Linked DNA regions of Homo sapiens: regions 1, 3 and 4 are each linked to region 2. The links are contacts of gene promoters, found by promoter capture Hi-C in blood cells and fetal thymus (Javierre and others, 2016). All regions are on one chromosome and are shown on one strand. The core of a region is centred on a gene start or on the middle of the fragment in contact, and the rest is flanking DNA. Distances in the headings are between cores, read along the strand shown.

Region 1 (3,096 bases), core at 54-2,553, 1.9 Mb before region 2:
AGGAGGTTTAAGTTGAATTTAGGTGAACGTGAAAATTTTCTGACCACTGAATTTGAAGATGAAGATACACTATGTACTTTTCGGACAAAATGTGATGACTTTAAGATTTCTTGTCACTAAATTGGGGATGGGGGCTTACTAACTTTAAATTATTTAAGTACTTCAGACAAAAACTAATAACTTCATATCTCTCACAAAGCAAACATTCTGTCTATACACAGAATTTACTAGAACCTGTGAGGAAACTGTAATCATTATCATTTCCGTTTTACAGAATAAGGCAATCAGAACAACTGACTTTCCTAACATCACAGACCTAGATCAGAATTCAGAACTCTGTGTCCAATCTTAGGTCCCTTCCAATATTACAACCTGCAAACTAATCAAACCGGCATCTGTTTTTACATTTCTTTAAAAAAAGCAAAGCAATTAAAAAAAGGACCCAATTCTGCTCAGAGACGAATATGTATTTCTTAATTTGGATCTAACTTTATAACATGGTGATCAACCCAAGTACACTGTACTCGACTCCGAAAATCCTGCTCGTCACTTTATATTTTGAGTCCTACTAGAGACTTTGATGAATTGCACTCAAGAAGACGCGGCCCCCACTACGCAGTGGCTACGGGAGATGGCTTCCAGGGCAACTGTTCTCCAAGTTCATTTCTGAGCGCCGGGTAACCATGGCCAGTAATTAATCCAATTCTAAGCGTTGCTATCAATTCTACGCGTTGCTATCAATTCTACTGATTTCCCTGATCGACCAGAGTCTTCCCATTGCAGGAGCTTTTGTCACAACTTAGGCTTTACCTGTACAACCGTCATCTCCACAGAGGAGCGACAAGCCTTTATGCAATATGGACACCAAGAAAACCGCCTTCGAAGACACGCAAGGCAAAATTCTTGCCAGTGTCCGGAAATACCCGTCTCTGGAACCCAAAAGTCAAACTAAAATTAAAAGTTCGGCTTAGCAACACCGCGAAAGGCGATGTAGGCGTCCACCTGGAGTTTAGCTGCCTCAACCTCCGCCCCGGCCTGCCGGGTCTCTGGGGACCCCGTCTTCCTCCAGCGGGCTCTGGGATGCGGCCCGCTCACCTCTGACCCTGGCCGGATCTCGCGCGTCTAAGCCACCGCGTTGCCAGTCGCTGGCCACCCACCTACCGCCACCGCCCACCTGTGCGGGTCGCCTCGCCGCTAGGCCCCAAGACGGCGCCGCCTGCTCGGCAGCAAAGCCCACCCGCCCCGTCGGCGGCTCAGTGCTGCACCCCCACCAACAGCCAGTTCCGGCGGCCGCACTTCCGATTGGCAGGCTGGGCCGAGGGGCGGGGAAGGCGGGCGGAAGGGGAGGAGCCGGGAGGGCGGGGCCGCTGCCAGGAGCCTGGAGCGCTGCGTTCCGCGCAGGACGCCGGTGAGGCCCGCAGAGACTTGCGTCCGGGCGGGAGGCGGGGCCCAGGATCTCTGCTCAATCCTGGAGTCCGAGTCCGCAAAGTGGGAGGGAGGGTGTAGATGTGAATTTGGGGAAAAACGACCCTGTTGAATTTCTAGAGTGGAAGAAACATAGAACTAGCTTTTCTCTTTGCTTAGCACATACAAATGGAAAAACAGCGACACCGTTACCTACATTTACTAGTCCAATGCGTACAACCTTCTGTAGTATATCAACTGCCAATGAGTTTATGTTTTTAAAAAAACCACCCCAGAGAAGGGTTCTAAAAATTCAGAAACCGCATTACTAGCACACATTGTAAGGTCTGTTTTGTTTTGTTTGTTCGTTTGTTTTTCAGACAGAGTCTCGCTCTGTCGCCCAGGCTGGAGTGGAGTGGAGAAATCTCAGCTAACTGCAACCTTTGCCTCCTGGGTTCAAGCGATTCTCCCTGCCTCAGTCTCCGGAGTAGCTGGGATTATAGGCGTGCACCACCACACCCGGCTAATTTTTGTATTTTTAGTAGAGACTGTTTCACTATGTTGGGCAGGCTGCTCTTGAACTCCTCATCTCAAGTGATCCACCCGCCTTGGCCTCCCAAAGTGCTGGGATTACAGGCGTGAGCCATCATGCACGGCCTGGGGTGAATCTTTTTAATGAGCATTTATTATTTGCCGTTCACAATGCCAAGGGTCATAATGAATGAAAGTGTCTTGGAATTAGAGTTAGTGGTTGCACACATTATAAGTGTATTAAAGTACACTCCAAAATAAAATCCGAACACATTAAGTGGTTACTCCCATTCCTCCCTCTCTCAGCCCCTGGCAAATGCCAATCAGCTTTCAAACTGTGGTACCTATTACGGATATTTCATATAAATGGAATGTGTGACCTTTTGGTCTGTCTTCGTAGCATAATCTTTTGCAGGTTCACCTTGTACACCTTGTTGCATGTATCGGTACTTCATGTCTCTTTATGGCTACTATTCCACTGTACCTAGATGCCACAGTTTTACCTGTCCATCCACTGATGGACATTTGGGTTGTTTCCACTTTCGGGCTATTGTGAATAGCAATGATATGAACATTTGTATACAAGTATTTGTTCGAGTCCCTGTTTTCAATTCTTTTGGGTATAAACATAGTGGAACTTCTGGGTCTTATAGTAATTCTACGTGAAAATATTTGAGGAACCCATAAACAAATGTTTCTACAGCAGCTGAACCATTCATTTTACATACCAAGAGCATTGTCGGGGGATTCCAATTTCTCCACATCCTCACTAACACCATAATTTTCTATTCCTTTGATAGTAACCATCCCAAAGGGTATAAAGTGGTATTTTATTGTGGGTTTGATTTGCATTCCCTAATGGCTAGTTATCTTGAGCATCTTTTCATGCCCTTGTTAGCCATTTGTATATCTTCTTTGGAGAACTCTCTATTCAGGTATTTCCCCATTTTTAAATTGAGTTGTTTGTGTTTTTGTTGTTAGTTATGTGTAGTCATATATTCTGGATATTAGACCCTTATGAGATATATCATTGGTGGATACTTTCTCCCATTCTGTAGGTTGTCTTTTCACTTTCTTTGTAATATCCTTCAGTGTACAAACCTTTTTAATTTTGATGAAATCTAATTTATCTATTTTGTTACTTGTGCTTTTGGTGTCATC
Region 2 (2,792 bases), core at 239-2,738:
CATGAAGGATAAATAAGGGGACTCTTGAGATCTCCCGCTTGCATTTCCAGATGATATTTACTGCCTTCAAGCTTTTCATGCCTACTTCAAAAGAAAAGTTTCTTTTCCAATTCAGGTAAATGTCTCTAAATGTATACTTTTTCTTTTTTCTTTCTTTATTCCATTTTTTTTTCTTTGTTAGGCAGGGTCTCACTCTGTCACCCAGGCTGGAGTACAGTGGTGCAATCTCAGCTCACTGAAGCCTAAACCTCCTGGGCTCAAGCAATCCTCCCACCTCAACCTCCCACTTAGCCACAGGCATGTGCCACCACACCTGGCTAAATTTTGTATTTTTTGTAGAGATGAGTTTTTGCCATTTTGCCCAGGCTGGTCTCGAACTCCTGAGCTCAAGTGATCTGCCTGCCTTGGCCTTCCAAAGTGCTGCGATTACAGGGCATGCACCAGTGCATGCAGCCTAGTTTTTTCTTTTATGTATTAGTAATGCCAAACGTGTTCTCTATTTCTAACATGTACTATGGCTTTTTTGGCAACATAAGGTACAGAGCACAGGTTAGGTCATACACACACGCACACTCACACCATCATCACACACACACACACGCACACCATCATCATAATCACTTTCTGAACAACTTTTTAAACTTTCCAATGCTCAGTTTTCTCATTTGTAAAATGAGATTCTAAGAGGATCTACCTCAGAATTATTGTAAAATTGAAAGAGATAATGCAAGCAAAATGCTTTGTAACACATAATAGTCATTAGTATTAATGATAGTAGTTGGTACTTATAAGCTAAGTTTTTTTTCTCAACTTCTCTCCATTTATCAAACAGGATACAGCTCAAACCAACTTTTCTTTTTAATCTCAGCATCATCAGAAAATGTTTGAAGTTGGAGAAAAGTCAGCCTCTTCAACATATCTTTGTTATTTAATACAAAAAGAAGAAATACAAAGATAAACACCAATTCTATCTAAAATTGAATGAAAAATAAAGCAAGTTATAGACTGCTGTTCAAGAAGCAAATGAAATCAGCATAAGCAATGAATTCAAAATCCTGAGAAGGATTTCATACAGAAAGAAGAAATTCAAAGATAAACACCAACTTTATCTAAAATTGAAGGAAAAATAAAGCAAGTTATAGACTGCCGTTCAAGAAGCAAATGAAATCAGCATAAGCAATGAATTCAAAATCCTGGGCTATAAATGAAATTGAGGCCGATTTCTGCAAATATATCTCATACTTACTCTATACCTGTCTATAATGCTACAACTCCTGCTTTGCCATATATGTAAAAAACAAGCCTAAGACAGGAAAAAGGAACTTACCCACGAAATTCTCTTTATCTTGCTTCTCAGGTGAAGACACCCTAGAATCCATCTCATTCTTGAGAAGCTTTTATACTTGGCAATTTTTCATGGGTTTGGAGCTAAGTGTGAAGAACAGGCAGCAACTCAGATGTGCTTGGGAGAGGGGAGAGGAGAAAGTATGAGAGAGTGAAAGACATTCCTTCTCTTTAGTGAACTCCCTAAGGGGTAGTTACCCTGGTGAGGGAAGCCTGATAACATAAACAAAAAGATTTCTTTTATGAGTTCAGACTGCCTTTGTTCACAGAAAAAACTTGAAAGAATATGACCATCTGGTGGTATTGCTTCCTGTAAAATATTGCTGTGTAATTTTCTATAGCATTTATATTTCATAAAACACTTCTATGCACCTTGTATAAATCTTGTGTGATCACTGATTACACAATGACCTGTTCAATACACAGGGCAAGTGTATCCATCCTTATGTTTCAGATGAGAAAATTTAACCCAACTCATTCTAACACTGCAGTGAGTGAGCTTTTGAAACTCAAATCTGATCATGTCTTCATCCTGCTTAAAATAATCAAAAAATTGCCAACTGTCAATATTGTAAAGACCAAACTCCTAAGTGTCCTACAAGACCCTGCTGGCCTGCCCCTTCCTCCCTTTCCAGCCTCACTCATGTGTCTCTCCGTGAAGCAGCTCCATTGGTCTCCTATCAGTGCCTCCAAAGCTTGATATGTCTTCTCGCCACCGGATCTTTGCACGTGTTATCATATGCATAATTTTTTGGCTTGTGTCTGTTTCTTCTTCTAGACCAAGAATTGACAAACTTTAGCTTGCCAGCTAAATTTAATTTACCACTTGTTTTTAAAACATAAAGTGTTATTGGAACACAGTATGTCCTTTTGTTGCTTTCTTTTTTTTTTTTTTTTTTTTGAGATAGGATTTCACTCTGTTGCCCAGGCTGGAGTGCAGTGGCACAATCACAGCTCACTGCAATCTCGACCTGCCAGGCTCAAGCAATCTTCCTACCTCAGCCTCTTCAACAGCTGGGACTCCAGGTGCACACCACCATACCTGGCTAATTTTTAATTTTTTTTTTTTTTAGAGATGGGGCCTCACTATATTGCCCAGGCTGGTCTCAAACTCTGGGCTCAAATGATCCTTCAGCCTTGGTCTCCCAAACTGCTGGGATTGTAGATATGAGCCACCATGCCCAGCTCTTTCATTTTTGTATTGTCTGTGCTCACTTTTGCACTGCACCCGTGGATTTGAGTAGTTGTGACACAGACCATACAAGCTGTAAGGCCTAAAATATTTACTGTTTGTCCCTTCACAAAAAAAGTTTGCTGACCCCTGCCTTGCACTATACATTTCCATGAGGAGAGTGACTTGGTCTAACATTTCCATTGCATCTGCAACAATTAGAACAACGTGGGCACATGATTGATGTTCAACAATACTTGCTGAATGAATGAATATA
Region 3 (2,739 bases), core at 25-2,524, 1.9 Mb before region 2:
TACAAGTGGAAATCAAGGCATAGAGAGGTTAGATGAATTGCCCAAGACCACACTACAGACAAGTGTCAGAGGCCAATTTGAAACTGAATTCTGACCCAAGGTAGTTACTTTTTATACCGTACCAACTAGAATGGCATTTCTTTCATTTACTCATCCAACTTTGTTGAAATTTGCCTGGAGAACAATTTCCTTTCTAATAACCAAGAATAAAATTTATGTTGTTAACCCACTGCCCATTATGCTTCCTTCCCGTTCAGTCTTCCAGTCAATGGCTTCAACACGAACCTTGAAATTCAAATAATCTCTATGTGAGAGAAGTCACTATTCAAAAAAGTTACAGATAACCCATACATGGACAAAAGCTTGAATCAAAAAATCCCCTTTCAATTCTGGAACTAGAATAGTTTAATTATAGTTTATTTATTGTTTACTAAGTCCCATACTTTTTTGTACCAGTTAAATAAAGGCACTGTCTATAAAGAAGGTCAAGTGTAACTTATAATGGTGGTTGGGTGAACCTTCACTTACAGGGAAGTTGTGAGCATCTCCAGAATGGGGAGGATCAGTAACTGAAGTGATGATATGACCCTGAATAGCTTCCAATCCAGTCTCCCATGAATTCTCTTACCACAAGCCGGTGGGACTGCGGATTTTTCCCCGAACACATACTCCCTGCATTTTTTCATCTTTGGGTCTTGGCTTATGGTGTTGTTTCCTCAGCCTGAAATGCTTCCAGCCTGCTTTATCTTTCCCATCGCCCAGGTCTAATCCTAATAATCTCAGGGCTCTTCCTTAAATGCTGTTTGCTCCATGAAACCTTTTCCAATCTCCTCAACCAAATATAAATACTCTTTTTAAACCCAAACAACACTTTGCTTAAACTCTTGCATCCCCTCCTACCCTTTTGTCCAAAATTTTTCCATAAAAGATGTGCAACAAATAGTTTTTAAAATGGAAGTAAATTGAACTACTGTATTTCATAAAGTTTTGTGGACAGTGTGTGGGGTTGATGCATTCTTTATTTATTCATTCATTCAACAAATAGTTATTGAATGCCTCCTATTTGCAGGCATGAGTGACTCACCAAAGGTGGCATAGGTAGGTAATGATGGATTCAGAATGGAAATCCAGGATAGCCTGCCTCCAAAGCCAGTACTTTTAACCCCTACATAGACATCAACAGCCAGAGGCTCCTGAACGCTGGGTGGCTTCACTGTTGGGAATATATTAGTTCTGTTTCTTTTCTTTAATTGTATAAAGTATTTTACCAATGCATTTTAAAGCTATGATTTAGCCTTGATTTCAAAATTGCCTCTAAAATAATTTCTATTAATATAAGATGACCCCAGTAAAAGTAAAATAACGTATTCTGGGCAGGATTGTACTGGGTAGTATTGTACTGTTTAACAGCCAATTCGGGTTTTGTCAGTCCTGAACTTTATACAATTTTTTTTGTGGCCCTCTTTAAGAAAACAACAACAACAACAACAACAAGAACAACAACAAACAGGCATGAAATATTTAACTTAGGAAAAGAAATCATTGCAATTTACCTGAGTGTTAGAGGGTCAAGTCTTTTTTTTTATCCCCTAAGCTATCTTGATGCAATTGACCAGAAATTCTTACATAGAAATGCTTCCACATTGCAATCTGACTTCTCCTCCCCACCTGAAATACTTCACAACTCCTGTCCACTCCTAACACTTAGAAGGGACCTTGCAAAGGAGGCTTTATTCACTTCCCTGTAAGTCCGTGTCTGCTTTTGGCAATTAAGAAATGATACTCAAATGGCATTGGTTTTAGTCTCATATGAATTTTGGGGTTAATTTTCTGGGCTTCTTGGTATCTTTTCCCAGGAAATGGAGACACTTTAGTAGAATGGTCATTTGAGACACAAAAATTTCTTAGTTAAAAAAAAAAATTTTTGGCTATCAAATTGGGTCGGCAGTTGTCATTACAGAAACCATTTGGCATGAATATAATCTCCTTTTGGAACTATTTAAATAGAATACAAAATAAATCAAAATATGTTCTTAAATAAATAATGCTGTCACTAAGGGATTTACTGACATTTATGTGGCTCAAACACTATGTTCAGAATAACATTACCCAGAATCAATCACTTCAATTTTAAAAGATCCTGGAGATGACTAACTTTATAGAAGGATTTAAGTCATTTTTTCCTCAAAGCTTTTTGGAAGTATTGGCACTGCAAAGACAGTGAGACACTATTGGAAATGAGGTTATTTGGTGTAGTATCAAAAATCACAGCAGAGGGCGTCATTGTAATGTGCTGGATTTTTCTTTCTTCATGAAAGAATATTTTCTCCATGGCTCTGCATCTTTCTGTTCACTCATTTTGAAACTTGCAATATGTTTATCTGAAAAAAAGAAAACACTTAAATACCAATTTTACTATATTGAGAATGTAGGGTTCAATTTCAGCCTTAAAAATCATTACTTATTTTGTTTGGTTCCCATGAAGTTATTGCAATTCTGGCACCTTTCTGGACTTCCTTCCAGAGCAGTGAGGAGTTGTGTAACCTCTTTTACTTTTTCTTGCAGGTTGTCACCTTATTAAGACCATTCAAATTGTTGGCAGATCATTATGTGAACACATTCATTAATTATGTTACTTTATTCAAAGATCAGAAAAATTACATGAAAACAGTTCATGACATCACACTTATTGCATCTTCCAGTTCCTTTCAGTGAATTTTGCTTAAGTTCTAACAGCTA
Region 4 (2,839 bases), core at 325-2,824, 1.9 Mb before region 2:
ATGATATAATCCCCATCTCTTATCCAGAACTCTGGGAGCCAAATTGTTTTGGAATTCAGAATTTTTCCTATTCACTACAAGACCTGGGGTAGCACTTCCTGTTAATATTTCACAGTAAGTGGATAAATAAAGACTGTAAATACCCTAATGTCAGTTCAAATCAGGCTTTAATTGATAGTGAATTTTGATAGTTTGACTTTCATAGAGTATGAAATAAAATTATTTGCCTGATGATCAATCTACATGTCATATTGTTGGCCTTGTAAATTGGCCATAGTATGAGATTTAGCCTTTGCCGTTCAATTAGTTTCTATGGAGAGATGCTGTATTAATACAAATGTCGCAAGAAGACTGTAAATCATAATTTCAGTATTCTGCTAAAAATCATAGTTTTTAGGCCAGGCATGGTGGCTCAGGCCTCTAATCCCAGCGCTTTGGGAGGCCGAGGTGAGTGGATCACGAGGTCAGGAGCTCGAGACAAGCCTGGCCAACATAGTCAAACCCTGTCTCTACTAAAAATACAAAAATTAGCCGGGCGTAGCGGCGTGTGCCTGTAGTCCCAGCTACTCGGGAGGCTGAGGCAGGAGAATTGCTTGAACTCCGTAGGCGGAGGTTGCAGTGAGCTGAGATGGCGCCGCTGCACTCCAGCCTGGGCGACAGAGGGAGACTCCATCTCAAAAAAAAAAAATCATAATTTTTAGAGTTTGTCTGACTAACGCACATTGGGTAGTTTGTATTAATATATCTTAGATATTTTTGGTGAGAATTTTGGCAACAGTTTTTTTTTTTTTTTTTTGAGACAGAGTCTTGCCCTGTCAGCCAGGCTGGAGTGGCACGATCTCCGCTCACTGCAACCTCCGTCTCCCAGGCTCAAGCAATTCTCCTGCCTCAGCCTCCTGAGTAGCTGGCATTGCAGGCGTGTGCCACCATGCCTGGCTAATTTTTGTATTTTTAGTTGAGATTGGGTTTCACCACGTTGGCCAGGCTGGTCTGGAACTCCTGACCTCAGGTAATCTGCCCGCCTCGGCCTCCCACAGTCCTGCGATTACAGGCATGAGCCACCTCGCCCGGCCAAGAGTTTTTAAGACTTCCTGTTCAATACGAACCACCTCTTCAGACAGAGTAGGCTTAAATGACAATAAGCTTCTAAATGTAGAAAAACCTTTTTAGTCGATTGACTCTCTTAGAAGCACACTGTTGCTGTTCTTTTTAAAAAGTGTTTAAAGAGGATTTAGAAATTGACTGTGTTTCTATGTGACCAGAACTGTATGCAGTATTTTTTTTTTTATTATAACCCTTTACTCTTCTTGGCTAGAGTTTAATTATATTTTTTCATCCAACAATCACAGATTTCGTTGAGTAATCTCTTTTGGCTTGTATTTAGGTCAGTTTATTTGTTCATAATAATGAAGTCACTGACATATGGAAACATTTAGTGTGTTACTTAACTAATCAATTGGAACAATAAAACCTAGAAAGCATTTTTATCAAGTTAAAATTTCAAATCACACAGTTTTCTCCTTTTCACTTTTATCATAAAATTGCTCCCAGGAATTGTGCTGTGAAAATCAGTTTTTTTTTAATATGATTTTTCTTTTTAACTTAAAAAAATAAACTTTGATGGAGTGAACCCCAAAAAGGATAGTGACCTAGCTGGACTTTTAAAAAACAGCTTAAAAGAAGATCAACTGAGAGAATTGAGAAGAGAAATTGGAGGTGGTAGGTGAGAAGGAGAAAGAGGAGGGAGTACTGAGTGGTAAGGTGGCTTAGTCTGTTCTTGCTGTTATAACGAAATAGCTTAGACTGGGTACTTTTAAACAACAGGAATTTGTTGCCTATAGTTCTGGAGGCTGGGTAGTCCAAGATCAAGGTGGTAGCAGATTCAGTGTCTGATGAGGGCTCATTCTTTGTAGATGGCAACTTCTATGTGTCCTCACAGGGAAAAAGGGGCAAATGGGCTCTCCTAGCCCTCTTCTATAAGGGCAATAATCTCATTCATGAGTATGAAGCTTCATGACTTAATTACCTCCTAAAGGTCTCACTTCTTAATACTCTCACATTGGGTATCAGGTTCCAACATATGAACTTTGGAAAGACACTGATATTAAGACCATAGCATAAAGTGAGAAGGTGGAGGAGCCTGGATTGAATACAGTAGACAGTGGATTTGTGAGCATATTTTAACACATTATCACGAGCCACACAACGAAGAGCAGCTGAGAGCTGTCTTAAATCAGATCTGAAAAAGGCCATGACTGTGTGTATTAGGGTTCTCTACAGGGACAGAACTAATGGAATACATATATGTAAAGGGGAGTTTATTAAGTATTAACTCGTAGGATCCCAAGGTCCCACAATAGGCCGTCTGCAGGCTGAGGAGCAAGGAGAGCCAGTCCGAGTTCCAAAACTGAAGAACTTGGAGTCCGATATTCGAGGTCAGGAAGCATCCATCATGGGAGAAAGATGTAGGCTGGGAGGCTAGGTCAGTCTCTCTTTTCATGTTTTTCTGCTTGCTTATTTTCTAGCTATGCTGGCAGCTGATTAGACTGTGCCCACCCAGGTTAAGGGTGGGTCTGCCTTTCCTCGTCCACTGACTCAAATGTTAATCTCTTTTGGCAACACCCTCACAGACACACCCAGGATCAATACTTTGCATCCTTCAATCCAATCAAGTTGACACTCAGTATTAACCATCACACTGTGAAAACAGAAAGACAGCATCAGATCCAAAAGGGCCAGTAAAAAAGAAGCAAGAGGTCATGAAAATGGATCAAAAGTAGCTGGCAAAAGAGAAAAAGAAACTTTTTTTGATAGAAAAGGAGAATTTGCAAATAATAAT

Evidence for each region. Contacts are between HindIII fragments. The CHiCAGO score rates a contact against its expected background, and 5 or more counts as called.
Region 1: the fragment with the promoter of SUPT20H here is called in contact with the fragment with the promoter of STOML3 in region 2 in 5 of 17 cell types (total CD4 T cells, M2 macrophages, total CD8 T cells and 2 more); the score reaches 11.9 in total CD4 T cells.
Region 3: a contact is called between a fragment that was not itself captured here and the fragment with the promoter of STOML3 in region 2, in 1 of 17 cell types (non-activated CD4 T cells). The highest score is 5.8, in non-activated CD4 T cells.
Region 4: a contact is called between a fragment that was not itself captured here and the fragment with the promoter of STOML3 in region 2, in 4 of 17 cell types (naive CD8 T cells, total CD4 T cells, M2 macrophages and 1 more). The highest score is 8.1, in naive CD8 T cells.

Annotation. Positions count from the first base shown.
Region 1 is chr13:37,058,385-37,061,480 of GRCh38, forward strand. SUPT20H (SPT20 homolog, SAGA complex component) reads right to left here and starts at 1,304. Exons shown (of 26, transcript NM_001014286.3): 1 at 1,175-1,304. RefSeq lists a silencer at 1,216-1,475. The HindIII fragment of the contact is 8,647 bases long and covers 1-3,096 here.
Region 2 is chr13:38,989,343-38,992,134 of GRCh38, forward strand. STOML3 (stomatin like 3) reads right to left here and starts at 1,489. Exons shown (of 7, transcript NM_145286.3): 1 at 1,328-1,489. The coding sequence starts at 1,379. The HindIII fragment of the contact is 645 bases long and covers 1,393-2,037 here.
Region 3 is chr13:37,107,001-37,109,739 of GRCh38, forward strand. No RefSeq gene overlaps it. Among named protein-coding and RNA genes, the nearest start is that of CSNK1A1L, 2.7 kb to the left of the region's middle. The HindIII fragment of the contact is 1,828 bases long and covers 361-2,188 here.
Region 4 is chr13:37,084,478-37,087,316 of GRCh38, forward strand. No RefSeq gene overlaps it. Among named protein-coding and RNA genes, the nearest start is that of CSNK1A1L, 20 kb to the right of the region's middle. The HindIII fragment of the contact is 866 bases long and covers 1,142-2,007 here.